Regions from separate parts of the Homo sapiens genome. Here all the other regions are linked to region 2. The links are contacts of gene promoters, found by promoter capture Hi-C in human tissues and cell types (Jung and others, 2019). All regions are on one chromosome and are shown on one strand. Each heading gives the region's core, a stretch centred on a gene start or on the middle of the fragment in contact. The rest is flanking DNA. Distances are from core to core; before and after follow the strand shown.

Evidence for each region. Contacts are between HindIII fragments. The study calls those that stand out against the background at their distance.
Region 1: a fragment that was not itself captured here is called in contact with the fragment with the promoter of KCNH6 in region 2 in 6 of the 25 tissues and cell types used here (IMR-90 fibroblasts, dorsolateral prefrontal cortex, lymphoblastoid cells and 3 more).
Region 3: a fragment that was not itself captured here is called in contact with the fragment with the promoter of KCNH6 in region 2 in 5 of the 25 tissues and cell types used here (aorta, heart left ventricle, mesendoderm cells and 2 more).
Region 4: a fragment that was not itself captured here is called in contact with the fragment with the promoter of KCNH6 in region 2 in 8 of the 25 tissues and cell types used here (bladder, dorsolateral prefrontal cortex, heart right ventricle and 5 more).

Annotation. Positions count from the first base shown.
Region 1 is chr17:63,594,053-63,597,214 of GRCh38, forward strand. It overlaps DCAF7 (DDB1 and CUL4 associated factor 7), which reads left to right. Exons shown (of 7, transcript NM_005828.5): 7 at 1-214. Among named protein-coding and RNA genes, the nearest start is that of TACO1, 5.3 kb to the right of the region's middle. The HindIII fragment of the contact is 6,157 bases long and covers 1-3,162 here.
Region 2 is chr17:63,521,685-63,524,764 of GRCh38, forward strand. KCNH6 (potassium voltage-gated channel subfamily H member 6) reads left to right here and starts at 1,674. Exons shown (of 13, transcript NM_001278919.2): 1 at 1,674-1,805; 2 at 2,455-2,685. The coding sequence starts at 1,730. The HindIII fragment of the contact is 20,898 bases long and covers 1-3,080 here.
Region 3 is chr17:63,423,501-63,426,722 of GRCh38, forward strand. TANC2 (tetratricopeptide repeat, ankyrin repeat and coiled-coil containing 2) reads left to right here. Exons shown (of 28, transcript NM_001394998.1): 28 at 1-3,222. Among named protein-coding and RNA genes, the nearest start is that of CYB561, 21 kb to the right of the region's middle. RefSeq lists an enhancer at 2,212-2,950. The HindIII fragment of the contact is 4,240 bases long and covers 1-3,222 here.
Region 4 is chr17:63,636,326-63,639,725 of GRCh38, forward strand. All of the region lies in intron 2 of MAP3K3 (mitogen-activated protein kinase kinase kinase 3), which reads left to right. It also overlaps the pseudogene EEF1DP7. Among named protein-coding and RNA genes, the nearest start is that of MAP3K3, 16 kb to the left of the region's middle. The HindIII fragment of the contact is 5,071 bases long and covers 1-3,400 here.

The DNA of each region.
Region 1 (3,162 bases), core at 31-2,530, 72 kb after region 2:
TTTTAACACTGTGCTGTGAAACAACTATGGGGAATCTCCATTGAAGGCTACTTCATGGGCACCTGAAAGTGGAGTGTTATAGCTATGACTTTCTATTTCTTGTTTCCTAAGTAAATTAAACCTAATTTTCACCCTTTCATTCTGTTTCAGCCTCCTGTATAAGAAGTACCGTATTTTCTGCCCATCATACTTTGTAATAAAACTTGAACATGTATAGATTGACTGAATTTCTTTTTGTGACGAATTCAGTTCTTCCCATTTTGTCACTTTGGTCATGTTCCATAGACAGTGGCAGTGCCCCAGCCCGAGCCGGGCAGTCTACTCATCACCTTTTATATCCTATTTAGTCATTCACTTGTTAATTCAGTGGAGCACCTCCTCTATGCCAGGGGACATGGCCCTCAAGTTGGTTGCAGTCTACCAGAGGAGACATCTACATAAATACTTGTGGCCGGGCACAGTGGTCTGTGATCCCAGCTGAGGCATGGGGGTGGCTGAGGTGGGAGGATCACTTGAGGCCAGGAGTTCAAGACCAGCCTTGGCAACATAGCAAGACCCTGTCTCAATCAATCAGTCATTTTTATTAAAAAAAAAAAAAATTTCTTTTAGCCAGACTAAGATCTAAGACAAATCTTTTTTTTTGCATTTCTTTTTTCTTTTTTTGAGACGGGGTCTCGCTCTGTCACCCAGGCTGGAGTGCAATGGCGCGATCTCGGCTCACTGCAACCTCCACCTCCCGGTTCAAGCTATTCTCCTGCCTCAGCCTCCTGAGTAGCTGAGATTACAGGCATGTGCCACAACACCCGACTGATTTTTGTATTGTTAGTAAAGACGGGGTTTCACCGTGTTGGTCAGGTTGGTCTCGAACTCCTGACCTTGTGATACGCCTGCCTCAGCTTCCCAAAGTGTTGGGATTACAGGTGTGAGCCACCGCACCTGGCATTTATTTTATTTTAATAGTTTTGGGGGAACAAGTGGTTTTTGGTTATGTGGATAATAAGTTTTTTTAATGATGATTTCTGAGATTTTGGTGCACCCATCACCGGAGCAGTGTACACTGTACCCAATTGGTAGTCTTTTATCCCTACCCCCTCCCACCCAAATTTTTAAAAGACAAAAAACAAAAAAACCAAATAACTTGCATTGTTGTGCGATAATGGATGTGTTTAGGCATCACCCCTCAGGAGGAGGTGATCACCTCTGCCTGTGTGGGAGCCACATGGGGTCAGCGAAAACTACTTAAGATGGATGCCTAAGCTGGGTTTTGAAGGCTGAGTAGGAGTTATCTGGAAATAGGGAATGTCCTTTAAGGCAGAGAGAACACCCATGTGCAAATCTATGGAGGCAAGAAAGTATGGTCATATTTAGAGAATTGCAGGTTGAGGTGGGGTGAATAGTGGGAAATGTAGCTAGAGATGTATACAGGAGCCAGGGCAGGGAAAGTCTCCCGCTTTGCAGAAATTTTAGACATTACACTTCTGTATGATCCTGGAAAACATACACAGAGAGGAGTCATCAGAATTGCATTTTAGAAGGATAGGCAATGAAAAAGTGCCTCTTCCTTCTTATAGGGTGAGAGAAAAACCCTGAACTAAGGCGGCGGCGGCAGCAGCAGCCACGGCAAGGATGGAGAGGACAGGGCACAAGTAAAGAGGGATGCAGTCATCAGCATTTAGTAATTTATTGATTGTGAAGGAGGACAGAGAAATAACTCCCAGATCTTTTGGATTTGGACAGGTTCTGATGGCTGACTAGGAATGTCCAAGTCCCTGCTAATTTCCCAAACCTATGCCCCACACGGTAGGGTGGGGGAGTTCCTATCCCACTGCTCTTCAAATGCTGTGTGTCCTGGATGAAATACTACCCCCATTTATTTATATTTTTATTCTTCATGTTGGGCCACTGTGAAGGAAGAGAAGAAAGGCAAACTGATTGGTTCCGTGAACCTGTATTCGGTAAGTACCTGCCATTGTGTCAGCTGATATGGAGCCGGTGGCAGTGGATCTGTGAAGGGAAGTATGTGCTCTTGAGAATTTAATTTTTTTTTTTTTTCAGACAGAATTTCGCTCTTGTTGCCCAGGCTGGAGTGCAATGGCGCGATCTCGGCTCATCGCAACCTCCGTCTCCCGGGTTCAAGCGATTCTCTTGTCTCAGCCTCCTGAGTAGCTGGGACTACAGGCATGTGCCACCACGCCTGGCTAATTTTATATTTTTAGTAGAGATGGGGTTTCATCATGTTGGTCAGGCTGGTCTCAAACTCCCGACCTCAGATGATCCACCCACCTCGGCCTCCCAAAGTGCTGGGATTACAGGCGTGAGCCACCGTGCCTGGCAGAGAATTTAAGTTTTATGAGTACCTGCTGGTCCTTTGGAACTGTGCTGCTATATGGTCTGACAATGTATATTTTGTGAGAAACACATGAGTCCTGCTCTCTGGTTTTTAAGGAGAAAACAGAGAGTAATACTATTTATAGGCTAGCCTATGCTGCGGCAACAAACCCCCAAATCTCAGAAACTGAGCACTACAAAAGCTTATTTTTTGCTTACACAAAGTCCTCTGGGCCGGGTGCAGTGGCTCAACTCTCTAATCCCAGCACTTTGGAAGGCTGAGGGGGGAGGGAGGGGCAGATAGCTTGAGGTCAGGAGTTCGAGACCAGCCTGGCCAACATGGTGAAACCCTATCTCTACTAAAAATACAAAAATTAGCTAGGCATGGTGGCACACGCCTGTTGTCCCAGCTACTTGGGAAGCTGAGGCAGGAGAATAGCTTGAACCCGGGAGGTGGAGGTTGCAGTGAGCCAAGATCGCACCACTGCACTTCAGCCTGGGCAACAGAGCAAGACTCCATCTCAAAAAATAAAAATAAACGTGTGACCTCCAGGTTGCTTATGGGGGGTGGGAGGGAGTACATTTTTCAGGATGGGCCGGGAAGTGGCTTACTCACTTTTGCTCCTATCTGCCAACTGCAAGGAAGGTCAAGTCAAGAAATGTAGTCTTCCTGTGTACCCTGGAAAAGGAAGTGAAGTAGTGAATAATTATGTCTCAGCCATACTAGCAAATCGGCTAAGTATCTGGACTAATAACTAATGTAATCTCATTCATTGAGAGCTGTTAGTACTGGACAACACATGGTCAAACCTAATGGAATGATATTTGTAGCCA
Region 2 (3,080 bases), core at 424-2,923:
ACTCTAAGCCTCTCACCTGGACTCCAGTAAAAACCTTGCTGAGCCTCCTTGTCTATCCTTCCTCCCCCACCCACCATTGTAAAGTTTATGTCACCAGAATATTTCTTTCATGTCTAATTGCTTAAGAACTTGGTTGTTCATCAATTAAATCTAGATGTTCAAAATGGCATCTGAGGGTCTTTATTAATTACCTCCTTCCTCCAAACTCACCTCTCCCACACCCCCTTGTTCCCCCCACCCCAGCCCCTCTGCACTGACATCACCTTTGGCCTTTGCCTAAGGTGCATGCCCCATTTGAATGCTTGCCCTCCAAGATCAGGCTCAAAATTGCTCACCAAACCCTCTGCAGCACTACAAGCCCACCCAGATGCTCAGTGAACAGTAGTCCCCTTCTCCCCTTCCTCTCCAGGAAGCCTCTTTCAATAAACCTATTCCCACCCCCATTTGCTTTTTCTAGTGTGTTCATTTTCAGTCAGTACTCAGTACTCAGACACTTTTATCAGTGGTCACTTGCTAATAGGTGGTTTTAAATCTGTTCTCCTTCCAAGATGTACCTGTATGCTAAGAGCTCTCAGGCCTCTGAAGAAGGCATCTTATTGCATACTTCTTTCTTTCTTTCTTTTTATTTTCAGATGGAGTCTCGCGTCTCGCTCTGTCTACCAGGCTGGAGTACAGTGGCGCAATCTCGGCTCACTGCAACCTCCGCCTCCCGGGTACAAGCGATTCTCCCACTTCAGCCTCCCAAGTAGCTGGGATTATAGGTTTGCGCCACCACTCAGCTAATTTTTGTTTTTTCAGTAGAGACAGGGCTTCGCCATGTTGGCCAGGCTGGTCTCAAACTCCTGACCTCAGGTAATCTGCCCACCTCTGCCTCCCAAAGTGCTGGGATTACAGGCGTGAGCCACCGCGCCTGGCCCTTATTGCATATTTCTTGCACGTCTTCATGTGTACTCCTACCCCCTCCTCTCAGGACCAGGCCCTGGCTGGACTTGGCGGCAGGAGCTCTGCATGGGACCTAGGTCTCAGCTGAGCTGGAGATCACTTGCTATAAGAGCAGGCCAGAGGCCTAATGGTATCATTGCCAGGGTCGGGCCCAGTGGTCAGACCCGGAAGAAAGCTTTCAGCCAAAGACCACCTGAGGCCCCTAACAACCCCATCTGTAGCCCCCCTCCTGCCTGGGAAACTCCCTGCACTGGGAGGGGAGACTGCCCTTTGGTACTGGGAGGGAATCGGAGAGGTGCTGAGGCCATTGGCCCTTAGGACAGGAACAGAAGCAGCTCCTCAGAGAACACCTGCCCTATTCCAGGGCCAGGACCCCAGCCCCGCCCCGCCCCGCCCCGCCCCGCCCCGTAGGATGCAAGGCCCCGCCCCAGCCCCGTCGGGTCCCAGAGAAACTGCCCCGCCCAGCGGCCCCCTCCCCGCCGCCGGCGCGCGGCTTCTTTCAGCACCAAGGCGTGGACAGCTCCCGGGCCGGCGCAGAGGAGAGGAGGCCAGGAGGGCGCGGGCCAGGGAGGCGAGGGGAGGGCAGGGGAGCGCAGGAAAGGAAAGGAGAGGTGGGGCAGGGGTGGGGAGGGGAGGGCAGACGCAGGCTGGCGGGCGGGGCGCGGAGCCCGGCGGCCCTCCCCGGGGGCGGCGCCCACCGGAGCCGGACGCTGCTGAGCCCGAGGACAGACGGAGACGCCGGGAGCCAGTGGCGCCTGTGGCTCCGGGCAGGGGCCGCGGCCGAAAGATGCCGGTCCGCAGGGGCCACGTCGCTCCCCAAAACACTTACCTGGACACCATCATCCGCAAGTTCGAGGGCCAAAGTGAGTGTGTGTATGTTGGGGCGGGGGGACGATCTGGAGTCCTGGTTCCGTGAAAGGGGGGGCTGGACCCCTTTACTAACTTCTAACCGGGCAAGGTGGTGAGTGCCGGGTGCTGAATGAAAAATCCTTCTTTTGATGTCCCCAACACCTTCTCCTCCAGGGGGACCCGCTTGCCTTAAATGCTGTCCTCTTTTCTGGAACACAAGGAGCAGCGTGCAGGCCTTCCCTCCCTACTGCCAGCTGTTTCCTTGGTGCCCCAAGTTCGAACCTCCCCTTCCAGCCACTGCCTGCCCCCTCATCCGCGTCCTCCAGAGGCTTCTCTGAGTCCTTCTTTTCCTTCCTTTTCATATCCTGGTTCTGGTCTTCCCAGGAGCTTTCCCAGGCCTGACCCCCATCTGGTCACATCCCTGCCTCCCTTCCCCACACTTTTCCTGTTTCCAGGAGGCCTTGGGCCTTCCTTCCACCTCAAGACCCTCACTGCCCTAGTCTTCCCACAATCCCCAGGCCTGACTCCCTCCCTCATTCCGGTCACTGCCCTGCTCCTCTGCCTAAATTCCCCTTACTGCCACCAAGAGTCCTTATGATCTTTCCCTCCCAGCCGCTGGATCCTGGCTCCCATGGACTTTTTGCCTCCCACCTCCCACCCCAGGTCGGAAGTTCCTGATTGCCAATGCTCAGATGGAGAACTGCGCCATCATTTACTGCAACGACGGCTTCTGCGAACTCTTCGGCTACTCCCGAGTGGAGGTGATGCAGCAACCCTGCACCTGCGACTTCCTCACAGGCCCCAACACACCAAGCAGCGCCGTGTCCCGCCTAGCGCAGGCCCTGCTGGGGGCTGAGGAGTGCAAGGTGGACATCCTCTACTACCGCAAGGATGGTGAGGCATACTCAGGCCAGAGGCTTTGCAGGGCAGGCTTGGCCCTCTGTCTTGTCCAGCCAGGGTGGCCTTGGGGAAGGCACTGACCCAGGGTCCAAAGGGCCTGAACAAACCCTGTTTCTTCTAGGGGCCTTGGTTCCTCCACAGGCATTGGATATGATGCCTTCTGAGGTCCTTTGCAGGAGCTAGGGATCAGGCTGGGCCACCCACTGGTTCTGGCCTGGGGCAGGGCCTCCTGCTCTGCCATCCCTCTGCTGTGTCCCTGGTCTCCTGGCTCTCCACTATCTTACTGTCAGCCCCAGCGGTCAGGCAGCTGGGATGGAAATTAACCTTCCCTCCTCTCCGTCTGCTCCAAGGATTAGAGGAGGAGTCACCTCCTGAAGACCTCTGTGGCC
Region 3 (3,222 bases), core at 678-3,177, 98 kb before region 2:
GAGCATTCGTTCTCTGTTGTTAGGAATCATTCTGCTCTGTTAGGGAAGGGCTGCAGGAAGGGCAGTTTCCTGAATAAAAATCTGGCTGCGACCAGTCCCATGTGTCTGGTAAGTAAGTAAGTAAGTAAGTGCCCTTTGAAGGGATCATTAAGACACAGGGAGCATGAACCTGAGATCAGAAGCATTTCTTTACTAATTTAGATTCTGCGAAATAGACGGACCTCTCCACCCCCAAACCTAAAACAGGCCAGGACTTGTCTCTGTGCTGAAAGCAAATAGCAAGACTAACTCAAGCCCCAGCCTCTTTCCACACTCCCTGATACCTAAGGACTGCTTTCTCAGCTAGACCAGGGTGGGCATCAGCGACGCCTTCTCAGCTAGACCAGGGTAGGCATCAGCGTCCTCTCTCCATCTCTATACCCCTCTCTCTCACATCAGGAAGATGAAATGTGTAGCTCTAGCGGCAACCTCTAGCCAGGAGCCCAGTGGCCTCTCAGATTGCTTTTTGGCCAGGTCTCAGCACTGCTGGCATCTTTACATCTTACTCCTTAAAACCGCCTCTCGCTGAGGAGCCACTGCATTTTGAAGAATTTCTCAGTGTCTGTCAGGAAAGTGCTCCTGCTCATTTGGAACGCCACACACCACCCGCACTCACCTGTCCAGGCGAATGAGCAGGTCCTGTAGCTTTACAAATATGCCGCTGATGCCGCTTCTCCCCAGGGTCTCTCAGTTTTCCAGGACAAAAAGATTTAGGGCCTATACCCTATGGGCAAAACACCTAAAATGTCAACAGTCAAAATGCCATTCTTTTTGGCCATCATAAGAGGGAGTAGGTATCACTGCTGCATGCCAGTTGTTTTTGACTAGAATATGCCAACCAGAGCTTGTTGGGGCAGGAGACGTTTTTCCTTACAAGCAGACTGCCTGTGCCCTGTGCCCTGTTTGCTACTTCACTGCCATGGAATGATCCGAGTACTGTATTTCAGAGCTGCCCCTTCCCCAGCAGCAAACACTCGCTGAGTCCATGTCTGGCTTCAGGTGGGAGGAAATGTTTCAGATGAAACTTACTCAATTCATACCACCCTGAAATGGAGGACAGAGGTGACAAACTTCAGTTTAATAGGTTTCTCACCAAGTTGTATGTTCCATTGGCCCAGGATTCTTGCACTAATGGGTTTCTATCACATCATGTCTATAAATGGGTGCACTTTACTGTTTGAATTTGTAACTGAAGTACTGGATATTTAAGTGTGAGTAATGTCTTCATTAGAAAATAGCAGAACCGCTCTTGTCTTTTAGTGTATTTTTCAAGAAAAAAGGAAAGGAAAGACATCAAGCAGTGGATCACAACATTTATAGCACAAGAAATAACTTGTATATAAGCATCAAAAAGATTAAGAATTTTTTAATATGAAAAATATTTGCAGTGATTTTAAAGTGCTTTTCCAGCAATGTTCTTAGGGACTCCTGAGACACGGTTACTTTATCTACTGGATCAGTAAGGCACACAATTAACAATTAACAATTAATGTTTATTTACAAAGTAAAGGGAAAACCTGTGTAACATGAGAATTTGGCATGACAAAATGGAGACCATTTTGTATCTGCTGTTGTATCTTGTCCGGGTTGCAGACGTGCACTATTAAAGTCCCAAGTTAATAGAGCACAAACCCTTCTCGCTCCTCCCCCATGTGCCCCTCTTTTTAGATGTGTATAACTTAAACTCGATGGCTCAGGAAAATTCCACTAATTAGAATCATGTACAGTACCCCAGGTCGTTGTCCAGATATACAAGTTTGCTAATGTAGTTAAGCCTGGATTATTAAACACTTTTCCTAAATTATTGTAAACAGAACAGCTTAGAGAAAGGTATTCTCAGTCCTTAATATTGTATAGTAGTTTATGAGCCCCTCTCTAAATATTGGTATTTTTATATTCCAGAGATGTACCCAATAGAAAAAATTAAAAATTAATCAGTATCTAATTTAATATCCATAAGTATTTTTCCTTAGATTTTAGTCACGTACAGTGGGCTATGTGGATGTCACTTGTGCTTCACCATAGTTTACCACTAGGTGTCACTGTGGCTCTGCACTGCGCTTGTTTTGTAGCAAAGAACAGCGGCATCCCCTCGGGAGAGAGGAGCTGCTTCCAGGGCAACAGGCAAGCGGGCTCAGAGGTTCAGGAGAAGGCAACAGAGGCCTGGAAGGGGTCTTCGTGCATCTGTGCCAGTTGTGCAAGACGAACTCTTTGAACACTACATGCTTTGGACTTCAGCCAGGCAGAGGCTGGAAGAAGGTTGACCAGAGCTCCCTTGCTCTGGTAGAGGGATGGGTACATGGAGAAGCCCCTTCTTCCCCATGAGCCTCCCTCCTGTCAGTTCCTCTCAGCCTCCAGCTTTTATAACTCCAGAAGCGTCACAGTTGGGTGGTTTGATTCAGAGAGAGTTATTTTTCTACTGCAGAAATGCCTTGGACAAAACCAGTGCTCACTGAATCTTTGCCACAAAATGGAATAGGCTATCCCAGGGGGCAAGAGGTGCCCGCCCCTGTGCCCAGCCTCCTCTTGATGCTCCCAGTGCCCAGCAGCCTCGCACACCCTGCCTGTCTGTTCCTGGGCTGCCCATTTCTCAAGAAACCGACCTGCAAAGGCAGCCGGCTGCTGCCTCCACACCGAGGGCTGTGCGGTCCTGCTGCTCGCTCACTGGGAGGTGCAGCTCTTTCTCCTCTTCCTCTAGGAATTCCAGACCGACCATCTACCATGACTAACAACAATGAACAAAGGGCTTAGGGGCAAGAGCTACCTGCAAAGACGTGTCATGGAACCCTTCACCATGCAATGCCTTGAACTCAGCTCTGGCTGCTCCCAAGAAAAGGTGGCTGGCTGGGGGCCTGGACACAAGCACAATGGGGCTGGTGGAGCCACTGTGCAGAGCTACTTGAATAATCACTGGGTTTTCATCAACTCCTTTTGTCATACAGACCACTCAAGGGCTGAAGTGTTGGTAACCTTCATTTCGGTGTCCAAAGCCTCACAGCAGGTGAGCCACCCTGAGATGCTTGTGGCCACATGGTGGCCACAGTCAGAGCTTTGAAAGTCAGTACCAAATGAACGCATAATTGGACACCAAAAATCAAGTGTTACTTTCATGTTTCCTCACCCCATCATCTCATTGCCTCCTGCTGACTCTGATACCGACGCTGAGCTGACTTGCCAGGCTGC
Region 4 (3,400 bases), core at 180-2,679, 110 kb after region 2:
TTCTAGGAGTACAGAGAATACTGTACACTAGGAGCATTTGCTGTATTCTCCCTTTTGTATATTGGGTCTCTGGAAGCCTACAGCGTGGTTAGAGCTGACTGAATATTCTTAGATGTGTGGCACATCCTACGTGTGGCTGGGTCCTATGGATAGTTTTGCAGGCCATGATGTGCAGTGTCCCTTTAGCAGTCATTAACTCACAGTGAGTTATCAATGGGTGTTAGTTCTCTGTGGGTCTGACAACTTAGTATAGTGAAAAGAGTGCTGGCCTGTGGCTGAACATGCTGGAGAAGAGCTTGCCTGGCCACAGGGACACAGCCACGCAGATCCAGCATGTGTCTCCCATGTGCCAAGTGGAGCCCCCAGCCAAGAAGGCAGCCACACTAGCAGAGGGTGACAAGGACAATGACATTGACCTGTTTGTCAGCGACAATGAGGAGGAAGACAAGGAGGCAGCCCGGCTGTGGGAGAAGTGGCTGAGGTGGTATGTGGAGAAGAAGGCCAAGAAGACTGCGTTGGTGGTCAAGTCCTCCATCCCGCTGGACATCAAGCCTTGGGACAATGAGACCAATATAGCCCAATTGGAGGCCTGTATGCGCTTCATCCAGCTGGACGGGCTGGTCTAGGGGGGCCTCCAAGCTGGTGCCCATGGGCTACGGTATCCGGAAGCTGCAGATTCAGTGTGTGGTGGGGGACGACAAGGTGGGGACAAACTTTCTGGAAGAGGAGATTACCAAGTTTGAGAGCGTGTGTAGAGTGTCGATGTTGCAGCTTTCAACAAGGTCTGAAGCCTTAGAGTGTGTGTGCGTGCATGCGCACGTGTGCAAGTGTGTGAGGCCCTGCCACTATTAAAAACTGAGACCAACCAAAAAAAAAAAAAAAAAAAGAGTACTGGCCTAGGAGTCATAGAGTTGTTACTCATCTATTAATGTAGGATTTTATAATTTATAGAGTGCTTTCAACAACAGTTAACATCAATGCTATAAGCATGTGTATAAGGTTTACACAGCTTTTACACAAAGGTATTGAGTAGAGGCAGGAAGTAAATCCAAGCCTTCTGATTCCTAGTCACCGTAATTTTACCATGTATAAGTCATATAACCTTTCTGAAGTGAGTTTTTCCATCTGAAATATAGACTTAATACTCACTGTGTCTACCTCTTAAGATTGTTGTAAGATCATAGACAGAATGTGAAATATTTTGTACATTGTAAAACAAATGTACAAATGTGAAGTTGCAGTGGTTATGTCACTTCTTATGTTCTGGCACTGCAGGTGTGAGCTTTGGGGAAAGCTTCTAACTACAACTGTCCATAGTGTTGTGGAACTGAAAGGATTAAGGTTTTTCTCTCTTTATGGGATTATCATTACTGTTTATCTGATGATCTTTGCAAATTTCTGAAGCTAGCCTAATTTCTGAAAATCCCAGTGGAGGAAGAAATGGAATCCTTATTTCCATGGATTCCTGTTTCCCTTGAATCTTATCAAAATGGTAGGTAGATACTTGAACAGAGTCTGGGCTCTGGATCTAACCCTCCAGATGTTCATGAGTGGGTGCTTCAGAACAGAAAAGCTGCTTTCTTCATGATAGGCACAAGCAGGGCAGGGCCTTGGCTATCATTTCTAGAGGAAGAGAATTCCAGGATCTGTTCCCCCAGCAGGGTCAGTGATTGAGCAGACTGTCTTTTGCTTTCAGTGTGAAAGACCTGGCTCTTCAGGACCTCCCTTCTCTTTCAAGGGTTGTTGATAAGATGGGCTGGCCAGTTTGAAAATAAGATATAAAACAACACACAAGCCTGGCATTATATTTTGTAAGAAGATTGCTTTATAATCGTCTCTTCCACTGATCTCCTACAACTTTCCAGAGTCATGCTTAAAAATAAAATTTTAATTTTTGTTGTATTTTTTTTTCCTTTCATTCACTTACTCTCTTTGGCAAAATAAGGACTGCAATTCCAGAAATGTGGGGAGGCATCAAAGGTATGTAGCAAATGCAGGGAGAGAAATCAGTACAGAATCAGAGCGAGGATAAGAAGAATGATGGGTAACTGAGGCCTTTTTCAGGTCAAGTTAGTTCATAAACCTTTGGTTAATAAATCCTGATTTTTCTGGATTCTTGAAAGCTTTTTGGGCTACATGTTCAGCTGTTGAGTCCAGACTTTGAGAAGGTCATTTCTGCTTTAGTGTTATTGTCAGTTATTCCTGTTGCTCCTGCTGAGTCCCTGAATCTGTAGCTCAACCCGACAGCCCGCACTGTCTCTCTCCTGAGCGTGGCTGTCACTACTGCTCTCACCGGATTGCCTGTGGTGGGGAGGGGACATGAAGCTGCTTAGACCTGAATTTCTGTACTAGAACTTTTTTCTCAGTAGCTGACACCTCCATTCAGTTTAACATGTGCCTATGGTCACGCTTCTCAGACACACAAAAGAAATGTATGTCGGTCAGGAGTGGTGGCTCATGCCTGTAACCCCAACACTTTGGGAGGCCGAGGCAGGCGGATCACCTGGCCTGGCCAACGTGGTGAAACCCTGTCTGTACAAAAATACAAAAATTAGCTGGGCATGATGATAGGTGCTTGTAATCCCAGCTACTTGGGAGGCTGAGGTGGGAGAATCGCTTGTACTTGGGAGGCGGAGGTTGTAGTGAGCCGAGATCACTGCACTCCAGCCTGGGCGACAGAGCAAGACTCCATCTCAGAAAAAAAAGAAAAAAGAAAGGTATGTCATATTCCCTGTACCCCAGGAATCATGCAGTCTTACTGGGAAGTGAGGACTACATGAAAAAAAGAAAGTATGATATGACTATGCCTCACTGTGTGGTACAGAGAGTAAGTGCTATAGAAGGCCAGGAAAATGAAAGATGAGCCTGGGCCAGAGGAGCTATGGAGTCATTTCAGGTGGAAGGGCACTTGAACTAGGCTGTGAAGGAAGTATAAACAGTTAGGTAGAACGGAGGAAGGGTGGCACTCCAGGTCAGGAAACAGAATGATTAAAGGCCTAGGGGAAGAAGCAAACATGGCTTGTATCAGGAAACAAGGTGAGCTTTGATCTGGCTTTAAAGGGGGGTCCCTGTGGGGAACAAACAGTGTGAGATGATCAGGTAAACTGAATGAGCCTAAATCCCAGAGGGCTTTGAGTGATAGCAGAGAATTTAGACTTTATTCCATAGATAATGGGTATCACTGATTACCTTATGAACAAAGAAGGAACATGGTGAAAAAGGTGATTGAGATGGTTGGAACTGTAGAGGAACGCAGAGTGGGTTGGAAATGGGGAGCTGAAATGTATCCTCACTCTGATTCTGTACTGATTTCTCTCCCTGCATTTGCTACATACCTTTGATGCCTCCCCACATTTCTGGAATTGCAGTCCTTATTTTGCCAAAGAGAGTAAGTGAATGA